Regions from separate parts of the Homo sapiens genome. Here region 1 is linked to region 2. Evidence: promoter capture Hi-C in 16 types of primary human blood cells and fetal thymus (Javierre and others, 2016). All regions are on one chromosome and are shown on one strand. The core of a region is centred on a gene start or on the middle of the fragment in contact, and the rest is flanking DNA. Distances in the headings are between cores, read along the strand shown.

The links. The method cuts DNA at HindIII sites, captures the fragments that hold promoters and counts their contacts. A CHiCAGO score of 5 or more calls a contact.
Region 1: a contact is called between a fragment that was not itself captured here and the fragment with the promoter of MED31 in region 2, in 1 of 17 cell types (megakaryocytes). The highest score is 9.4, in megakaryocytes.

Annotation. Positions count from the first base shown.
Region 1 is chr17:6,472,004-6,478,384 of GRCh38, forward strand. It overlaps PITPNM3 (PITPNM family member 3), which reads right to left. Exons shown (of 20, transcript NM_031220.4): 8 at 5,972-6,094; 9 at 5,026-5,210; 10 at 2,429-2,601; 11 at 654-824. Among named protein-coding and RNA genes, the nearest start is that of PIMREG, 31 kb to the left of the region's middle. RefSeq lists enhancers at 2,054-2,646, 2,647-3,238. The HindIII fragment of the contact is 7,172 bases long and covers 1,514-6,381 here.
Region 2 is chr17:6,650,211-6,656,402 of GRCh38, forward strand. MED31 (mediator complex subunit 31) reads right to left here and starts at 1,395. Exons shown (of 4, transcript NM_016060.3): 1 at 1,291-1,395; 2 at 146-223. The coding sequence starts at 1,318. It overlaps C17orf100 (chromosome 17 open reading frame 100), which reads left to right and starts at 1,552. Exons shown (of 1, transcript NM_001105520.2): 1 at 1,552-3,266. The coding sequence starts at 1,704. The coding sequence ends at 2,060. MIR4520-1 (microRNA 4520-1) reads right to left here and starts at 5,299; the gene lies at 5,230-5,299. It overlaps MIR4520-2 (microRNA 4520-2), which reads left to right and starts at 5,239; the gene lies at 5,239-5,292. RefSeq lists enhancers at 810-869, 960-1,039, 1,110-1,239, 4,897-5,469 and silencers at 1,490-1,569, 1,870-1,919. The HindIII fragment of the contact is 11,591 bases long and covers 1-6,192 here.

The sequences.
Region 1 (6,381 bases), core at 3,850-6,349, 170 kb before region 2:
TCTGAGCAGGCTTAGGCTAAATTTCCTCAAGTAGGGCGTGGAGCCAAGGCTCCGATTTCCAAGCTGCTGACTGTCCATTACAGGTCTCCCATCGACGATACACTCGGTCCATGCCCGGTTCACCCCACTTGACCCTGGAGGCCACTGGCTCTTCGCCAAAACACCTGCCCTCGCTCCTGCTGTTCTCCCTGCCTGGAAGATCTCAACCCTCATCCTCTAGCTCTTCTCCACCTGCCCAAATGCACCTCCCCTCTCTGGACCCTAATCAAAGGCCACCTCTTCCATGAAGCCCACCAGGATGGCACACTCTCTGCCCTACCCCTTCAGAGTCCAGGCTGGGCACTCATAAAAAAAATAGATTGGAGCACGGATCCCTGGACCCGCCATCAGCTCTGAAAGCTCAAGTTTACACCAGCCCTGGCCACAGGAGTGTGTCCGGGAGCCTGTTGGGGGCCTCTGAGCCCCAAGATGCCTCAGACAAGCAGGTGCTTAGCACAGGTGGGCGACTCTGAAGACAGAGGAGTCGGCTAACCTTCTGTTCTCACAGCCCCTGCTCAGGTGAGTCACCCTACTCACTGAGAGCTTGGAGGGGTTGAATGGGCTGGGGCCCCACCTCCAGCTCAGCACACTCTCTCCCACCCCCAAGAACCTACCGAGGAGGAGGGACTGCCCATCGCCCAGTGGGAACCTCTGGTAGCGAGGCACGCTGACAGGCGGCACCAGGTGGAACTTGGGCTCCAGCAGTGGCTCGAGCCGTGAGGCAGAGGGGTCTGCGCAATGGAAGAAGCTGTAGACCTGGCTGCAGGCAGGACGCACCTGGAAGCCTGGGGTGAGTGGGAAGACAGAGGGAAGCCACTTTCTAGTACCTGCTCCCTGGGCCCTAGGAGGCTCCCTGGAATGCAGCCTGGAGTAGCCTACTCCCCTCTCAAGAGCCTCCCCGGGCTCCCTGCTCCCCACGGGAACAAAGCCATTACGTTCAGTTTGTCTCCCCACCCAGGAGCGCAGTGACAGGCACCCAGCACTGCAGCCGTGCTGCACAGCTGCCCTTCCCCAATCAGGCTTGCAGCTTTCCTTTCTCTGAGCCTTTGCTCAAAACATCCCTTCTCCTTGTGGGCCCTCCCTCCCCCATTTCCACGGGGCAACTCCTTTAGATTCTTCCAGTTTTCACTCAGTTACCACCTGACCTAGGAAGCCAACCCAGGTTCCTTCAGGCAGGTCAGCTGCCCCTTCCACAGGCCTCAAGGCTATAAACACTCAGTTCCCAGGCCTGCTGCTAGAGTTCCAGGTTTGCCAGAGCTGGTGGAACACTTCTCTCGCTGACCAGCAGGTGTCTCCACTGAGGCATCCACCTCATCGGCGGGCCTCCCTGTCCTCCTAGAACAGGGACTGGACCGTCCAGCATCCAGGGAGCCCTAGGGTTCATTAGCGACACTGAGGGCAGCCATGGGGTTCTGCCTCCTCGCCTCCATTTCTACCACCCACTTTATCTGTTCCATACTGTAGCTTGTCAGTAAGCTTTGGCCAAAAGCATGGATCTGTGGATACCCAAGGTGCCCTGCAGCCTCAGACGGTCTGTACTTCTGTCCTTAAGAGTCACAGATACCCTCCCCACCCCTCATGCCTGCTGGTGCCAATCGCCTGGTGTGTACATTTTAGAGGAGCAGGAAAAGGCATTCGAGGTTGCAGGTATTAGCCGGGCACGGTGGTTCACGCCTGTAATCCCAGCAATTTGGGAGGCCAAGGCGGGTGGATCACTTGAGGTCAGGAGTTCGAGACCAGCCTGGCCAACATGGTGAAACTCCATCTCTACCAAAAATACAAAAATTAGCTGGGCGTCATGGTGGGTGCCTGTACTTCAAGCTACTCGGGAGGCTGAGGCAGGAAAATTGGTTTAACCCGGGAGGCAGAGGTTGCAGTGAGCTGAGATCGCGCCACTGCACTCCAGCCTGGGTGACAGAGTGAGACTCCATCTCAAAAAAAAAAAAAAAAAAAAAGGTTGCAGGTATTGCATGAGCAAAGGCACCTGAGGTGGGCTTGGGGATATGCGGGGGTGGGTGGTGAGACCAACCTGGCAGTCGTATCTGCCTCAGTACAGGAGAAGGAGAGGGTGGGAGGCAAGAGGTTGAATATTCTGTCTTCTCTTCCCCATAGGGCGTGACCACCGGACAATGAGGCCACAAAGCAGCCAGGGGCACTTGACATGGAGAGTGAAATCCATCTGAAGCTGCCTCACCTTCGCCCTGTGTCAGGAGGGAAGCTGCTCCTCTCTCCCTCCTCTTCCCCACCCTCTCTCCTCTCTTTCCACCTATCCCAACTCTGTGACCCTCCCTGCCCCTGTCCCCGACTTCACTCTCCTCATTCTGAGGCCCTGACACGGTGGCCCTAGTGACGCACAGGCACCTCAGGCCCCAGCCCACACCATCCCTACCGTCCAGCCCAGGCAGCACCGTCCTCCGCATGGCCAGGACCAGGCCCAGTGGCGAGCCGAAGAGGAAGAAGTCGGACACATCGAAGTCAAAGCGGCCCAGGCTGACCTCAGGGAGCTGCGGCCCCCCAGCCGCCGGGGTCTCAGACTCATCCTTTAGCACGCTGGAGTGGATGCTGCGGAGGGAGGAGGACGCAGGGCAGGGCAGGTCAGGGAAGGACCGAGAATGCGGGAGTGTTCACACAGCAGCGCAGCCTGAATTCTGAGCGTGAAGTGCCCAACCCTCCATCTCTGGGGCGGGGCTGAGAGTCCACCGGCTGCACACCACCTACAGTCAGCACTGGCCACCAAGGCCTGGCTGATATTTGGCTAGAAAAGGAATCAACAAACTTTTTCTGCAAAGGGCCAGAGAGTCAATATTTCAGACGACATGGACCGTGTGGTCTCCATTGCATCTAGTTAACTCTGCCATTGCAGCATAAAAGCGCCCATGGACAGTGATTAAATATGCATGGCTGGGATCCAATCAAATGTTACTTACAAAAACAGGCTGAGCACCTGGGGCGCCTGAGCATCCTACACACTGGCAGGCCTGCCTCGTCATGCTGGCTTTGTGTTGGCCACACTGAGGATTCCTGCACTGTGTACCAGACAAGCCCAGCCTGCCCAACACTCAGCTGGCTAACGTCAGTTCTGTTCTGCTGGGATCAGGGCTTTCATCGTAATTCCTGTTCCAGGCAACCCGCAGACACAGATGCAAACAGCTTGGTCTCCCCACCCCCAGCCCCAGCCCACAGATGAAGCAGAGCTTAAGGAGAAAAATGTGAGACACACAGAATTCCAACCATTTCCAACCCAGGTGCCCACTGTCCCGGGAAGAATCCAAGTTACGTTCAGCCACAGACCCAGAGTAGGACGCTGAGAATCAGAAGGAAACCTGGGCACCTCCCTGACCTTCCAGCTAGCCATTAGCTGCAGCTTAGAGTGAATCGATTAACTGAATGCAAAGCAACTAAACTACTTGAGTCAGAGGAGAACAAACTTTAGAAAGAGCTATTGAAATCATGTGGACAAGTGCCCCACCCTCAGGAGTGAGCGAGTCTGCAAAGTTGAATCCTCAGTCTCCGCACTCCCTCCTGCCTCTTGCAGTGTGAGCATCTCACAGTGAGATGATGACTCTGATGTTTAACAATACATATTTCATGTACAGCGTGGTCCCTAAACACATGCCAACTACTTAATTGCCAAAGAAACCACCATCTGTCCCTACACCAGAGGGGAAAGCTGGCTGTGTCAGACCAGCTCCTGGAAGCCTCCAACTTCTCATCACTCTCCAAATTTGGGGCTCTCCTAAAGGATTTTTCAAGGATGAGCCAGGACTGTTGAGATTTTTCACCTTGCAAGCCTCACTAGAAGGTAGCTGCTTTTCTAAAGGATCATCTGTCAGCGGGGCTTTAAACATTCAGAGATTTAAATGTGCAGAGTCTTTGACCTAATAATTCTTCCTCCAGGAATCCATCCAAATATAATCACCCTAATATATACATTAACGTTTATGCACAAAGATGTTCACTGTAGGGCTATTTATACTGCTAAGGAATTGGAAACAGCCAAAATGCCTAATTATAGGGATTAAGTAAACTGATATCCATTCATTCGACATTATATTGCCATTAAGAATATTTATCAAGTATTTTTAATTATATCAGGAAAAGATCACAATATAAAGGGTTTTTTTAAAATAAAACGATCTTAAAAGCATGTAGAAGGAAACAGTCTCTATGTTAACAATGAGACTGTTGGCTCCCTCTGGGTGGTGAGATGATTATCTTCCAAATGTTGTAATGACCTCATGATACTTATCACTTGGGTAAGGAGGAAGGAGAAAGGAAGGAAGAAGAGAGCTGAGGAGCAGAGGAAAAAGAAAGAGACATTCCTTCCAATTTGGGTCCAAGTTCAATTAACGTGTAAGCTGAATTAATGTGCAGATAATGTGTTTAGCCCACATTGATTAACATGTCTCTTCTAGAAAGTTAAAGGGCAAACAGTTCTGTAGAGGAGCCTGCCTGGCCCATAAACAAAAGTGTGTTGGATTAGATACATGAACTTGGGATAGGGAGACCAGAATGATGATCCCAGCTCTTCCGTCACTGGCTGCATGACCTCTAGAAAGTTCCTGACCTACTTGACCCTCTCTTTCCCTATGAGAAATGATAACAACACACACCTCGGGTGACTCACAAAACACAGTCACAGCAATTACTCCGCCAGGTTCTTAAAACCATGCAGTGAAGTAGGCTGGGCAGCATTATCTTTTTGCAGAAGAAAAGCCGAGGCTCAGAAAAGGACGACTGTTCCCAGTCTCTCTGCAAGTCAGAGCAGGGCAGGGACAGGGAACCAGGTTCCAGAGTCTCAGTACAGGGCTGCCGACGAGTGGCTGTGGTCCCTCAGTACAGGGCCGATGGCGAGTGGCCTTGGTCCCAGCATTTCAGTGCTTATCTATGGGCCCCCATGGAAGGGCCTGGGACATCTGACTGGTCACAGCCCTCCCAGTTGGCTCTGAGCCAAGGTCTTCTTGCTTCTGGACAGGGAGGGGCTACCTTGAGAGGAAGGCATGGTGCTGGGTGATGGCCTCGCAGTCATAGGTGGAGGAGTCGCTCTGTTTCCGCGGCAACGGCCTCTTGGGCTCCTCATCCTCCAACCCACTGGAGATGTCAATGTTGCTTTTGCTGAGACGCTTGCTGCTGGCCAGGCTGCAATCTTCCTCCACCGCGACTGGGGTGTCCTTTGGGACCGAACAGGGGACAGGAGAGAAAAAGACTGTTGTCACGGGAGACTCTGGGGCCTTGTCTCCTCCCCCCAAGCACAAACCAACCCCTTCATCCTAAGATGTGAGGGGCTACCCTTCTTCCAAAAGACACAGGAAGCCACATTGCAATCATGGTAGGATTTTAGGCACAGGCTCTCTCCCGCATCCACCGGGATTGACATTCCCACTGGGATGCTGGATGGCTGTCGAAGGGGCCAAATCCAGCTCTCCAGGCCTCAGTTTCCACACCTGTCATAATAATCCCCTGCTACTCTTGTAGAATTATGATACACTTCTTCTTCTTCTTCTTCTTTTTTTTCCTTTTTGAAACAGAGTCTCCCTCTGTCACACAGGCTGGAGTGCAGTGGTGCGATCTTGGCTCACTGCAAACTCCACCTCCTGGGTTCAAGTGATTCTCGTGCCTCAGCCTCCCAAGTAGCTGGGATTACAGGCACCCACCACCATGCCCGGCTAATTTTTGTATTTTTAGTAGAGATGGGATTTCACCATGTTGGCCAGGCTAGTCTCAAACTCCTGACCTCAGGTGATCTGCCCACCTCGGCCTCCCAAAGTGCTGGGATTACAGGCATGAGCCACTGCGCCCAGCTGGATTATGATACACTTCTTTGTGACCTGGATGTCATGGTGCCAACGTGAAGAACCAGCACTCTCTCCCCGAGGGGCAGGCCCTGCTCCTATGGGCATACCCCTCCCGCGGTCCTGTCCCCCGGCTGTACCTGGGTGCTGCTGATGCTCCCCTTCCGGCTGCTGCTGGCAGGGCTGTCCCCTGAGGGCCCCGCACTGTAGCAGATGGCATCGAAGGCCAGGAGGCCCCCCACACAGTCCCCGATGAGACACACCTGGAAGAGATGCAGCTGGGACTGCAGGCCTGCCCACTGCTGACCCCTCACCCCCACACCCGGCCAGAGCAGTGCTGCCTCCCCACAGGAGAATGAGAAACTCGTCCTTGGGAGGTGTTGAGAGAGCCCAACTGGGAAGCAGTGTGCAAACTGGGGAGGGTCAGGGTTGGCGTTGGCCCAGGCCAGCCCAAGGACGGGGAGTAGGCTACTCTCAGGGGTCAGACTTGGGCTAGAGAGCAGCATGGGCTCAGAATCAGAACTCAGACTGTTGGCCTCTGTTTTTCTAT
Region 2 (6,192 bases), core at 145-2,644:
CAGTACGCAATTATATCTATATACCAGCATAAGTGTAATGTCATTCAACTGAGAATGTGTAAAAGTAGATACTATTTTGAACTGCAACTCTTCTGTCAGAAATCATTAATAGCTACTCAATTTAATGAGGTGCTTAACAACTTACAATTAAGGTAATTTGGGTTGGCTAAACATTGCACAAATTCCAACTCCAACTGAAACCGAAGTCGATTTCCAGCATCATCTAGGAGACAAGACAGCAAAAATCATGGAAAACAAAGGTCACTGTATATAATACTGATTTGTAGTAAGGAAAGAGCAATAAAGAAACCTGACTAATGTTGAGATGGTCTTCCTAAACTAGGAGTGGGAGGAGATAAACCTTCCTTCGAAATCTAAGAAAAGCGGAGCCCTGATTAAAAGGAGTAAGTTAGAAGTTTCTCTAAAGTTAAAGAGAAATCATCAAAGAAAACAGCAACACAAACGGAGAATTCCTACCACTCGTGGGCCACTATGTAGGAATTTTAACAGTGATCACTAAGGTAGGCTGTAATAACTGTGGCTTCCCCTATTTTAATAATGCGTTGTAACAACTGTTAACAGTGATTAAGTTTCGCAAACGCTAGGGGCTGAATCAGTAAAGAAAAACTTAGGATGCAAGAGACTGCGGAGAGCCTAAAAGATCATGCAGCGCATGCATATAAGAAGCACCAGGGTCAGGAGATCGAGACCATCCTGGCTAACACAGTGAAACCCCGTCTCTACTAAAAATACAAAAAAAATTAGCCGGGAGCGGTGGCGGGCTCCTGTAGTCCCAGCTACTTGAGAGGCTGAGGCAGGAGAATGGCGTGAACCCAGGAGGCGGAGCTTGCAGTGAGCCGAGATCGCGCCACTGCACCCCAGCCTGGGCGACAGAGCCAGACGCTGTCTCAAAAAAAAAAAAAAAAAGAAGCACCAGTAGCAGAATGATACACAAGTCTGGCGACGATATTTCAAACTTAGGCAAGCTCATGTGAGAAGCAGAAAACCAATCAAGGAGGACACGGTTTAACACACAAGTCCTCTCCCTTAGTCTCACCCACGCCAGGGAGCTGGTGGGGTGGTGTCTGAATAGCAAAGATGTGCGAACAAACCAAATCAGGAAAACTGCAAAGAGTACCTTAGTCTTTCTAGACGCTACAAGAGCCTTCTCTCCTCTCTGTCCAAATATTAACCCTGCCAAGAGTAAGGCCTGGAAGGAGGCCACGGGGAAGAGGTCTGGGTCAAGGAGAGTTCCATCTGCGAAGACTCCAAGATCAGAGAGCTACTCACCTGTCTCCATAGCGACAGCAGCGGCCATAACAAACGAAGACACCAAAACGCCACCAGCCTGACAGAGCAAAAGCCCAGAGACGCGGGCGAAGTTCCGGAAACCACGGCTCCCTCTTCCGGTCCCGGGGCACTGTGGGATATGGGGCGGGGCGGCTCCGCCCATCCCCGACCAGCCCTGGGATGGCTCCACCCGCGCTGGCTCCAAAATAGCGAGGGGGCGGGGCCCGGGCCGTGGGAGCGCCTGAGGGGCAGGAGTCCAGTGTTTTAGCCTTCGAAGGACCATGGTGCTTCCACGTCATCGTGTTGTGGCGCTCCCGGCTATGGCAGTACCGTAGTTTTCCTCTCTTCTGCCTGCGGTGACCATTGGGCTGTAGGGTGCCCCGAGGCCTCCCTGGCCCCCTCACGCCGGCAGAATGGCCTCAGCCCGAGGGGCCAAGCAGTCTTCGCCCCGGGTGGGGACCACCCGCTACACAGAGACGTCCACGGTCCGCGTGGAGACCTCGTCCCACCGCGTGGAGACGTCGTCCCGGCGGGTGGAGACCTCCCAGCGCCGCAGCGAGGGGCCCTCCCTCTCCCCCTCGGGGAAGCGGCTCCCTCGCATCCTCGAGGCGTCCTCCCGGCACGTGGAATCCTCCTCGCAGCGCACGGAAACGACCTCCCGCCACGTCAGAGCCTCGTCCCTGAGGGTGGAGACGTCTCTGCACTGCGCGGAGAGCCCGACCCCGCGGGCCAAGCCGGCCGCCCGCCAGAACGAAAAAACGGCCCGATGAGATGCTGCTTCCCAAAGGCCACCAAGGGGCCAGGGCCCTCAGCCAGGACAGAAAGGCCTCCAGTTGCCAGCCAGCCAGCCAGCTGCCAGGTGGACCAATCATTTTCGGTTTCATGGAAACAAACCATAAATCAATGTAAGAAACAGCCAAGCCGCAGTTTCTGAACACAGCCAACGTTTACTGACCGTCCTGCGTCTTGGACCAGCCTACTTTTGACCCAGTGAACTATTTTCACTTGAAGCCAGCACAGAAGGTTTTCAGGCCCAGGATGCTGTCTAAATCGGGTTGATGGACAAAGAGAGGCTGTTTGAGCCTCTGAGCCAGGTGAGTTTGGGATCCACAGCCCTCAGAAAACCTTCACCCCTTAGGAACAGAGACCAAACTGAAATAATGACCTGTGGAATGATTCCATGCCTGCTAAAAACTCGAGGGACAAGGAACAGACTCATAAATTATTAATTGGCCTTTGTTTATGTTTCAAAGTAAATGGTCGTTTTCTTTATGCTAAGTCTTTGTACCTGGCACCCCCATCCATACACTTTTTTAAGGTAGGTTAGATGTGGTTAAAAATGACAGTAAACCCACCAGCAAGCAAAAATAATCTTAGAAAGTGAGAGGAGGTCACTGAAACCTGGCCTGAGGTTTGAAGAAGATGGAGAAGAGTTATATTTATTGAGAACCGGCTCTGTGCCAGGCACTAGATGTTCCTCCACTTACGATGGGGTTACCTCCCGTTGAAACTATTGTAAGTTGAAAATATGGTAATTTGAAAATGCACTTAATACCCCTAACCTACTAAACATCATGGCTTAGCCTAGCCTACCTTAAACATGCTCAGAACACCTAAAGTTGAGCAAAATCATCTAACAGAAAGCCTGTTTTATAATAAAATGTTGAATATCTCATGTAATTTATTGCATACTGTACTAAAAGTGAAAAAGAATGGTTGTAAGAGTACTTAAAGTACTATTTCTACTGAATGTCACTTTTGTACCATTGTAAAGTCGAAAAATCATAAGTCAAACCATCTTAAGTTGGGAACTGTCTGTATTCTGGGAACTTGGGCTATAGCAGTAAAAAAGGCAAAGTCCCAGCTCTAGTGGAGCTTACACTCTGGTGAAAAGGCAGACAAGCAATGATGAAACAAGACAATTTTCTATTGTGATTAGCACTATGAAGGAAATACATGGGTAATGTGATAGAGAATGGAAGTAAGTGGCTTCTTTTGATAAAATGGTCAGGGAAGGCCTTGCTGATTAGTTAACATGTAATCTGAGATATGTGTGAATGAACAGTGATCTGGAACAGGTGCATTCTAGGCAGAAGAACAGCAAATACAAAGGGTGGATGGGAACCAGCTTTGAATGTTCAAGGAACAGAAAGAAGGCCAGTGTGGCTGGAGTGAGAGAGAAGCAATTATATAGACATGGAAGCAGAACGGAAGAGAGGAGTTAAAAGCAAGCAGGGGCCAGTCCACAGAAGGTCTTCTAAGCCACAGTAAGGAATTTGAGATTATTCTAAGGTCAACAGGAAAACATTGAAGGGTTTCCAACAGGGGAACGACATGATGCCATTTACATTTAAAAAATATCCTTTTGGCTTCTGTGTGTAGAATGTGGGACAGTGGTTCTCAACTAAGTGTGATTTTGTCCCCCAGAGGATATATGGCAACCTCTAGAGACATTTTAGTTTGGTTGAAAAGTTGTTGGGAGGGGGTGGGTGGCACATTAGGTGCTACTGGCACCTAGCGGGTAGAGTCCGGGGATGCCACCTGACATCCTACAGTGCACAGGTCAACACCCTCCCCTCTGCCAACGATGAAGAATCACTGGTCCCAAAATGTCAATAGTGCCAAGGCTGAGAAACACTGACAGTTCTAGCAGCTTGGAAAGCTAGAGCATGGTCTACTGGGACAGCGCACCACTTTAAGGAACAGTCATGGAAGAGGGTTACCTTTAAAAGTAAAGAGAAATCATCAAAGAAAACAGCAACACAAATGAGACACAATACCTACCACTCATGGGCCACTATGTAGGAATTTTAACAGTGATCTCTAAGGTAGGCTGTAATAACTGTGGCTTCCCCTATTTTAATAATGCATTGTAACAATTGTTAACAGTGATTAAGTTTCGCAAAAGCACGTGCTGAATCAGTTAAGAAAAACTTAGGATGCAAGCTGAACAAGAGACTCCAGAGAGCCTAAAAGATGATGGAACATATGCATATATAAGAATCACAAGTAACACAATGATACACAGGTCTGGCGACGATATTTCAAACGTATGCAAGCTCATGTGAGAAGCAGAAAACCAATCAAGGACACGCTTTAAGACACAAGGAGGACACGCTTTAAGACACAAGTCCTCTCCCTTAGTCTCGCCCACGCTGGGAAGCTGGTGGGGTCGTGTTTGAATAGCAAAGGTGTGCGAACAAACCAAATTAGGAAAACTGCAGAGTACCTTAGCCTTTCTAGACGCTGCAAGAGCCTTCTCTCCTCCCTGTCCAAATACTAATCCTGCCGGGAGTGAGGCCTGGAAGGAGGCCCAGGGGAAGCGGGAGAAGAGGTCTGGGCCAAGGAGAGTTCTATCTGCGAAGACTCCAGGCTCAGAGCGCTACTCACCTGTCTCCAGGGCGACGGCAGCGGCCATAACAGGCAAAGACAGCGAATCGCCACCTGCCTAACAGAGGAAAAGCCCGGAGGGGCGGGAGGAGTTCCGGAAACCACGGCTCCCTCTTGCGGTCCCGGGGCACCGAGGAATATGGGGACGGTGGCTCCGCTCATCCCCGGCCAGGCCCGCTTAGCCCGCGCTGGCTCCGGAATGGCGAGGGGGCGGTGCCGGGCTGTGGGAGCGCCTGAGGGGCAGGAGTCCAGGGAGGCAGACTTTTACCCTCAAAAGGAATGAGTCCCAGAGCCTGGCACAAGGAAGACAAGTGTGCAAAGTTGGTGGAATGAATTCGGTGGCCTAAATGTACCTTCCTCAAATGCCACGGCTGACTGGGTCTCCTCGCCCACTTCACCCTCTCTTGCAATCCAACTTGTGAGGCGTGTGTGTGTGTGTGCATGTCCGCGCTTGCCTTTAGATGGAGGTTGGCTTCCCAGCCATCCAGGCTTGCATACACGTGCATAACTCCTACCCCTACCTCGCCTGCCTGCTGTACCAGGGGTTGATTCCTTCTTCCTGCGTGTTTTCTGTCCAAATCCTTTTCTGATTTGGACAGAAAACACGCAGGTGGCACACAGTAAGCGCTTAATAAATTTTCCGGCTACCTGATCTTCTTGGAATTGAGGGCATGCTCCTGTGCGCCCCTCATTGCACAGAGCTCCCTTGTCTGGAAACTCAGCAGTCACCGGAGCCGCCGTCGGTCCTCTCGCTTTCTCTATTTTAAAAAACGTTTCAACCGCTAGCGCTGTTGGATCTCTACCTTTCAGGCTTTATCACCTGGGGTGGAGTGGGTGGTGAGAGGGAAGGGATGGGGAGTCAAGACAGGAGAACGCTCTCGATTTCCCGACCCACCTCCCGTCATATCTCATGTCATATCTACCGGGTGTTCTACCCGGTCCTGTTACTTTTTTTCTTCCGCGAAAGCCCAAATTCCCATCACTGCTCTAGCTCTCTCCCAGATCGCCAAATCCGGATGTCTGTCTCAGGGAACGTCAAAGCAACATGCCCGGATGAGGTCCTCCCCTCTCCCCACCTCCCAGCCCTCTCCTCCTGCCTCCCCCGGTGTCACCCGCGCCTCCTTCCTCTCTTCACCTCCCTCTAAACAAGAATCCGGCGCAGTCAGTTCTAGACCCTGAGCATCTCCCGCGTCCCTGCCCAATATCCGTCCCGCCCCCGATCGCCCGCGTCCTCTTGAACCTGCGGAGCCCTGCTCCCCGCACTCCACGCCCTTGCTCCGAGCTTCCGAGAAAGCGGGGCAAAGGGAGCCAGAAAGAGAGAAAATGCGCACGGAGCAGGTGGCCCCGCGACTCCATGGTGAGGGGACGGGGCACGGAAGGTGGAAAGGCGCGCTCCCTCCTCCCTTTTTTCCTCCCTATGGTGGGCAGTTGGTGACACACAGTAAACGCTCAATAAATGTTTCCGCTACTCGATCTCCTTGGAATTAAGGGGATGCTCCTGAGCGCCCCTCA